Regions from separate parts of the Homo sapiens genome. Here all the other regions are linked to region 2. The links are contacts of gene promoters, found by promoter capture Hi-C in blood cells and fetal thymus (Javierre and others, 2016). All regions are on one chromosome and are shown on one strand. Each heading gives the region's core, a stretch centred on a gene start or on the middle of the fragment in contact. The rest is flanking DNA. Distances are from core to core; before and after follow the strand shown. Region 1 overlaps GRPR (gastrin releasing peptide receptor). Region 2 holds the start of S100G (S100 calcium binding protein G). Region 3 holds the start of MAGEB17 (MAGE family member B17).

What was found. The method cuts DNA at HindIII sites, captures the fragments that hold promoters and counts their contacts. A CHiCAGO score of 5 or more calls a contact.
Region 1: a fragment that was not itself captured here is called in contact with the fragment with the promoter of S100G in region 2 in 1 of 17 cell types (naive CD4 T cells); the score reaches 5.6 in naive CD4 T cells.
Region 3: a contact is called between the fragment with the promoter of MAGEB17 here and the fragment with the promoter of S100G in region 2, in 2 of 17 cell types (non-activated CD4 T cells and naive CD8 T cells). The highest score is 5.4, in non-activated CD4 T cells.

Annotation. Positions count from the first base shown.
Region 1 is chrX:16,139,338-16,142,037 of GRCh38, forward strand. All of the region lies in intron 1 of GRPR (gastrin releasing peptide receptor), which reads left to right. Among named protein-coding and RNA genes, the nearest start is that of GRPR, 17 kb to the left of the region's middle. The HindIII fragment of the contact is 1,484 bases long and covers 548-2,031 here.
Region 2 is chrX:16,648,794-16,651,493 of GRCh38, forward strand. It overlaps S100G (S100 calcium binding protein G), which reads left to right and starts at 1,365. Exons shown (of 3, transcript NM_004057.3): 1 at 1,365-1,410; 2 at 2,206-2,348. The coding sequence starts at 2,214. The region is part of intron 13 of CTPS2 (CTP synthase 2); the gene reads right to left. The HindIII fragment of the contact is 12,685 bases long and covers 1,160-2,700 here.
Region 3 is chrX:16,166,058-16,168,757 of GRCh38, forward strand. MAGEB17 (MAGE family member B17) reads left to right here and starts at 1,424. Exons shown (of 2, transcript NM_001277307.2): 1 at 1,424-1,726. It overlaps MAGEB17-AS1 (MAGEB17 antisense RNA 1), which reads right to left and starts at 2,622. Exons shown (of 5, transcript NR_187144.1): 1 at 1,150-2,622. RefSeq lists an enhancer at 2,159-2,700. The HindIII fragment of the contact is 6,177 bases long and covers 1-2,700 here.

The DNA.
Region 1 (2,700 bases), core at 40-2,539, 510 kb before region 2:
AACCTTTTATTTAAATCCAACTTTTCCAACCCGCAGCCTGCGGACCACCTGCGGCCCGGGATGGCTTTGAATACGGCCCAACACAAATCCATAAACTTTCTTAAAACATGAGATTTTTTTGAGATTTTTTTTTTTTTTACTTGTCAGCTATCGTTAGTGTATTTTATGTGTAGCCCAAGACAATTCTTCTTCTTCCAGTGTGGCCCAGGGAAGCTAAAAGATTGGGCACCCCTGATTTAAATAATGCTGTTTTTCAAAGTGCGTTTGAAAAATTTAGCTCATTTAAATCCTCATCATACTAAGTAAGATTGGTATCTTTAGCTCTGTTTCACAGATGAAGAAAATGGAGGCATCAAAATCTTGCAGTTTAAAGTATGGACTCAGACGCTAGATGGTCTCTGTTTAAACCCCAGCTCTTCCACTTGCTAGCTGTATGACCGTGAACAAGTTACTTAACCTCTCAGTGCCTTCGTTTCTTCATGTGTTAAGAAAAAGATGACAATAGTAATACCTATCTTCTAGTATTGTTATGTAGGGGCAGAGGGAAAGCTTCCTCTAATTCTTGAAAAGTGTCGAGAACTTTGTGCTAGGCACACAGTGAGTACTATGTAAGTTTTTGTTAAATAACAAAAAATAAAAAGAAACGGAGACAACATGCTTTCACAAAAACAGTTAATCATAGAAGTGGGACTAGAGTGCAGGGTTCCCAGTCTTCATCCAGTCCCTCTCTCCCCGTCTTGGACCTCTGCACCATATGGTGATGCCTCACCAGCACTGCCAGGATCAACCTCCTGGGCCAGTGGTCCCAGTAAGCTACAAAGTTGGGTCACCATTTCACCATTTATAAAACCTTTCCCAAACATTTATTTAAATCTAGTGCTGTTAAATTTTTATAATTAGACACAGTGACTCATATGCCATGATGGTATTTTTGAGCTGTAATGATTCTTATTTTGGAAAAAAATGATAATGTATTTTATTATGATAATTTAGAAGTTCCATTTTTATCCTTAATGATTTGAAATATATTTAAAAACTGAAAATTATCTGTGATATTTCATTTTCTATATATGTGTTTGATAAACTGACCGGATCAGGAGAAAAAATGTACATAGTGAGGGTGTCCATATCCCCTGGCACAACTCAGAGGTCACTTAGAGGGCTGGGCTTCCTGTGTTTCTCTGACCAAGGGTGATCTCTGGCCAAGGAAAGGTTTGGGGTAGGCTGAAGTGCCCCAGAATTACCACCAACAGACAATTGTCAACCAGAGATGAGAGTTGGTGGGTAAACACCCCACCCACCTCATCCTTTGGTGGCACAGTTCTGGAACGTGTTAACTGTGGTTTCTCAGGGGATTCCCAGCAAGAATGTGCCCCAGTTGCCCACCGTGGTGCCCTTTACTGGCTTTTTCTACCTCCCTGTGCTTCCTGGCATCTTCTTCCAAATAAATTACTTGCACCTAAATCCTTGCCTCGGGGTCTGTTTGGAGGTGAACGACAATTTACAAAGGCAATTTATGACCCTGAATCTATTATCCCTTCCACCTAGAGCACGGTTAATTTTTCTTTGTCTTCGTGATTTGTTTTTTTCCCCCGTTCTCTGTGTATCTTCTTTGCTACGCAGTAAAGTAATTGCAGGCTGTGTCTAACTACAATTTGCAAATGGGATTTTGAAATGTTTTTCAAACATTTTGGCTCATAAAATTTTAACAAGTTATAAATACATGTTCTTCCTCCATAACATTTTTGAGGAATGAACAATGTGTGCCAGGATGTTTGAACACCTACTGAAATTAAATGGATTACTACTTTCCTTTGTCATTTCAAACATATCCACTGGTAACTGTAATATTTCATCCTGCATATACCTTTCTGATGGGCTCCCTTACAGGATTAGCATTGAGCTTTGAAATTGGATCACTCTGCTGAAACTCATTTTTGGCCCAAGGGTCAATAGTTGCCCAACTCCTTATGAGAAAGTGCCATAAGATGTCCAACAACTAATTGCATCTCTCTTTCCATTTTATCCCTAAGCTTCTACATCCCTCATATCCCAGGATCAGTACCTTCTCAATGTCAGTAGCTCTTTCTCTAGCCTTGTTCCAGCCTCTGGTTTCTAGTCCTTCACTGGTGCCATTTTTCACCTTGGCTCTAAGGTCAAAGTCTCACTCAGATGACCACTGCTGGCCCTGAGGCCTCTGAATATTTTAAGGAGCCCAGACACTGCTCTAGGCCTCAGGCCATAGGGAACTGCAAGGCGTGTATATGGGGGTGAAGAGAACCTTTGAAACCTTAGCCAAGTTTTCTGGAAAGTGTCTTCTGGGACAATGAACCCCAAAGTGAACTTCACATGCTCCCGGAGAGGTGTGGCCTGATCTGAGAGATAAGGGAGGAAAGTACCAAAGCCTCTATTTATATTGATTTTTATTTTAATAGAAGGATGAATTAAACATGAGTAATATGTAGTATCCAAACTGAGGCTCACCCACATCAGAGGATTCCTTATCACATGTGGCTCAGGCAGCAGGAGTGAGTGGCCCACTATCTAGAAGGCTCAAATAGGACACCCTTACTCTTCTTTGCACTTTTAGCTTAAGGGAAGGCATCGCCAAGTGATGCTTGTTGTGCATAATCTAGTTTTAATTAAAGTAACCTCTTCAAATGGGCAAGTGGCTTAAAAATATTCCTGCTGAAACAAAAT
Region 2 (2,700 bases), core at 115-2,614:
GGAAGCTTTTAAGGAATTCTATTAGATTTCCCATTTGTTCTCCAATGTAAATAAGGCCCTAGAATTTTAGAGCTGAGAAACATCAGGGAGAAATACAGTCCCAATAGTCCAGTCCTCAGTTTGTAGGTGATATAAGGCAGAGTCAGGGAAAATTCTATAAGTGTGGAAGTGTACAAGTGTTTCAAAGCTGTAAAGTGCTCTTAAAATCCACCTGGAACCCCTTCCTGTGAGTTACAATCAGCATTAGATCAATGTCCCTTGGAAATGTCCTACTTATTTCATGGAACTCTTTCCAGTAGAAATCAATCTCCTTGGCAATTTTAAATCATGGCAGTTACAAAAAGTTTGAAGTATTTCCAACTGAACAAGAGTAAGTCGAGTGTTCTCACAAGTTTTTCGAATGATCACGAAATATATTTGGTAAGGAAAAGGATAATGAGAAATAAAAAGCAGACACAGGACCAACAAATAATGAAAGAGCTGAAAAAATGACCATGTTACTCAATATTGATTTGCCAAATAAAACCACAAATTACTGAGTATCTTCTTTCCACTTCTTAAACCTGCTTCTGAAGCAATACTTCCATTCATTCATTCATGTATTCAAATATTTAAGCTGCTAATATGTAAAGACATCAGAAGGACTTCAATGGCCATACCGTAATTTTTTAAACTATGTAATATTGTCCTTCTATGACAGCATTTTTTCTTTTTTACAGACAGGATCTCACTCTGTCACCCAGGCTGGAGTGCAGTGGCACAATCATGGCTCACTGTTGCCTCAACCTCCCAGGCTTAAGGAATCCTCCCACCTCAGCCTCTACAGTAGCTGGGACTACAGGCATGTACCATCACACCTGGCTGATTTTTTAAATTTTTCAGTAGAAATGTCTTGCTGTGTTGACCAGGCTGGTATCAAACTCCTCACCTCAAGCAATCCTCCTGCCTCGGCCTCCCAAAGTGCTGGGATTACAGGCATGAGCTACCGCACAGGGCAGCATTTATTTTTTCTGGATATGAAGAAAGTTATTTTTTAAAGCCTAAATATGCAACTAAATTGAAAAGAATCCTCTATATCTAAGCTTTATGAAATGTGAACTGTGAGCAAATATAATTCTACATTGGAGGGAAAATATAATCTCAGGGGGAAAAAAATCCAAGCTTACGACTCTGAACCATGAAGCAACTGTCGAGATGGACCTTTACTGGATCTTGCCCTTAATTATGGGGTTCATGCAGTCTTAAGCCTGAGTTTCAAAAACCATTAATAATTACCCTTAAATGGCCAACAAAAGGAAATTTTCATAATCAGGGTGGCGTGCCCGTAAAGACTATAAAAGTGTCATGATTCTGCTCAGCTCTTCAAACTCCTCTTTGATTCTTCTAGCTGTTTCACTATTGGGCAACCAGGTTAGTGTGATTTTGGTACTACCTAGAGCTCCTTCTGTTTGCATTAATACTCTGCTTCCTTTTAGAATGGTGTGAAAGATAATGGTCTGGAGAGAAGGTGAGTTTATGCCATCTGGAGATATTCCCTGTAACTTAGAAGCTAGAAGCTGTGGTCAAGTATTCTTCAAGACCACAGCCTGCAGAGTGCAGATCAGGTACATAAAAAGTGTAGAATGTCATTAATTACTAATAAAAATGTTTGGCTCCAGGGACCATCTCCTAACAGATGTACTCTAAGAACAGACATTTAACATACTATCTAAGATGTCTTTTTTTTTTTTTTTTTTTTTTTGCAGCGGAGGCTCGCTCTGTCACCCAGGCTGGAGTGCAGTGGCATCGCACTCACTGCAACCTCCGCCTCCCGGGTTCAAGCGATTCTCCTGCCTCGGTCTTCCAAGTAGATGGGACTATAGGCACGCACCACCACGCCTGGCTAATTTTTGTATAGAGACAGGGTCTCACCATGTTGGCCAGGCTTCCATGGTCTCGAACTCCTGACTTCAAGTGATCCACCCTCCTTGGCCTCCCAAAGTGCTGGGATTACAGGCATGAGCTACCGTGCCTGGCCTAAGATGCTTATTTTTTAAACATGTTAGTAGTTACTGGTGCCATTCCGACCCCGACATTCTCTTTTCCTTATTCTTCCCCATTTATGCCAAGGAAATGGCCCAATGGCACTAAAATCCTGCAGACAACCCTCAGCACAAAACTGTACTTCAGCTTTTTGGTAAGTTTATTTTCTTCCCAATTTATAAGACACCAGAATGAGTACTAAAAAGTCTCCTGAGGAACTGAAGAGGATTTTTGAAAAATATGCAGCCAAAGAAGGTGATCCAGACCAGTTGTCAAAGGATGAACTGAAGCTATTGATTCAGGCTGAATTCCCCAGTTTACTCAAAGTAAGTGGCCATCCGCAGAGCCCACTTAATGGGACTGATGGTGGGAGGGGAGGGAGGGAGGGGAGAGGACTCCGGTAGAGCCTTATAGGGACCGTCGCTTGAGGGAGGACACATGCAGGTGGGGTTTCTTCCCCTTAAGTCAGGCCACATTTCAGAAGGCAAGCTCTCAGAAAACAAGGGCCAAGCCTTCTATCCCTCCTGCAGCCTCAGCACAGGACTCTGCAGGACTAGCCATAATAAATGGAAGCAATGCCAAGTTATGCCTGGAAGACCCACAAGTCACCAAGCAAACCCAATAAGGCCTTCAGCATGGATTCAGTACTTCTGTGCCAGGCTTTAGGAAAACAAAGAG
Region 3 (2,700 bases), core at 174-2,673, 480 kb before region 2:
ACTGTCACACTCATCTCAGCCTGAGACAGACCTTGTGTATCTTAATTCACTTTTCTTCTCCCTACTCCAAATTGTATATCAAGTAATAAGAAGAAAAATACCGTGTACAAACTACTGGTTTGGAATACATAGCCAGAGCAATAAGAATACAAAAATAAATGAGAGCTATGAATAAGGAAAAGAAAGAGACAATACTCAGTGACCACATGATCATCTACATATGTGATGTCAGATCACCTGAAAAGATTGGGGACTCACAGAATCATGTGGCCCTACCCTTCCTTGGAGAAAGCCAATCTATTAGAACCAAAGTTACAGCAGAGGCAAAGTCTGGCTGGTAAAGAAATGGAATAGACCAACTGGCTTTATTTTGACCACCCACCACTTGTCCTGGGCCCCCTGCCTTGAGCTACAACTTCCTGATCTCTCATCACTTCAGGGCAAGGAGCCATTCTCTGCAAAGTTTGCGGAAGAAAAACTGTTAAAGAGATTGCAGGGATTTGGCATTTCCCAGGAAGCCTTGAATTAATGAGACAGGAACCAAGATGTGAAGCCCCATGTAGGAGGACTGAGGATACCGTCATCCCAGAATATTGGAGGTCCAACAGAGACCAGCCTGTGGCTGCTCTCAGACTTAGAGGGCCACAGGCAGGGCTGAGGCTGAGCATCTCCACAATTATCCTTCAAGGTTCTCAGGAGCATGAGAGATTTCAGGAAGACAAACTCAGGTCAGTAGAGGAAGGACTGTGAGCTTCTGATAGATACCAAGGTGATGACCCTGAATTAAGAATAAAGGAAGGAACAAGCCAGAACAGTGGGGTCCCATAGAGTCCTGCCCTGGCTGACAGCCCTTGTCGTTCTGGAATAGTCATTGGTAGATTTGGCTCATCCTGATTACAACTCTGTAGTCCCAGGAAGGTGAAGACCTTGATCAGAGGGGAGCAGCCTCAAGTCCCATGAGGATCGAGTTCCAGGACTAGTCAGTCAGGTGTCAAGGTGAGGAATTTCAGGGAGCAATTAGAAAACCACACATCCATACTAGAACAGAGGAAGACACAAAAACTCTTACCTCCACCAACCCACATCTCCCCTTCCCTGCACCGCCGCTGCCACACCATCCCATCCCCACTCCTGTCACACCATCCTTACCTCTCCTGTGACTTGGGAAGCTCAGGAAGAGCTGTCAGGTTGAGGTGACTGTCATTTCGGCCTGGAGGGTCTCAGGGAAGGGAGAATCTTGGTCTGGTGGGGGAAGCCCCAGCTGTGCATAGTGGAGCCCCAGAAACTGACTCGAATCAAGGTGAGGACCGAGAGTGACATAAGGGAATGGTTATCAGCAAAAAATAAAAACAAAAATAAAAAAATGCTTAATCTTGTCAGCCATAGCAAAGACCTCAGCTGAGGACCCCTTTTTTTCTGCTTAGATGCTCTAACGAGGGTAGTGACTCTGTCTAAAGGCAAAAGCACAGTTCAGCTGAGGGAGGAGAACTGGACACTCATTGGAGTCCCGGAGAGGACACTGAGTACACTGGAGAGGACTTCTATGCAAAAAGGGGGCCCGAGCAGAGCCCCGCCCCGCTTTCAGCCCTGGGAGACCCAGCAGGGACTTGATTGGATGTGGCTCACTCCGACATCCGCCCGCCTGGGAAGCTGCCGGAAGTGAGGATCTTCGTCTGAGGGACGCCACCTCAGGCTACCAGAACCCCAAGACTGGTTGGGTATCAAGGTAAGGACCCTGATCGTGGACTGAAAGGCCCACCACACGCAGCCAAGGCGACCACCCTGTGTCCCCCAACCCCCGCCCCCGGGTACCCACCTCCCTCAGCCGCGGGAGGCTCCAGTCAGGCTGTGGCACTGACTTCTGAGAGGGCACCAGGGAGGGGAGGGTTTGGTGTGAGGGTGAGGCTTCGATTCTGCAGAGGGATGGACTCCTAGGCCCTAATCGAAATGAGGTCCCTGATGCTGATGAGGAGACCTCTCCCAAACATGGGAGGCCCACGAGGCGGGCATGGTAGCTCACACCTGTGATCCCAGTGCTTTGGGAGGCTGAGGCGGGAGGATTACCCGAGCCCAGCAGTTCCAGACCAGTCTGAGTAACAAAGCGAGACCCTCTCTCTCCAAGAAAGAAAAGAACAAAAACTAGCGGGACATGGTGGCCGGCGCCTGTGGCCCCAGCGACTCGGGAGGCTGAGGCAGGAGGATCGCTTGAGCCCAGCAGGTCGAAGCTGCAGTGAGCCATGGTCACGCCATGAGCGTGGCGACAGAGTGAGACCCCGTGTCTGTCACAAAGAAAAAAAAAAAAAAGGAAAAAGCAAGAGAGCCAGGGAGAGCCAGAGAGCCAGGTTTCTGCTGCCCTGTTGTCAGCTCTGGGAGACCCCGTGCAGGCATAGCCAGACGGGGCATGCCGTGACTTTTCCCTCTAGCAACTTTGGGACGTGAGAGCTTGGGCCTGGGCCTGGCTGACTCAGGTCAGTGGAGCGACCTGAGTCGCGTCCCAAAGAGTTGGAGGTCCCACCCTGAGCCAGGTTCAGAACCCTGAGGCAGAGCAGTGGGGTCCCCTATAGTCCCACCCCTGCTGTCACGCCTTGAAGGCCCTAAACAGCCTTGAGAGGATGTGGCTTACCCTGAATGTCCAAATCTGAGGTCCCATTGAAGCAAGGATCTTGCTTTGAAGGGTGTTGCCTGTAGTGAGCTGAGGAT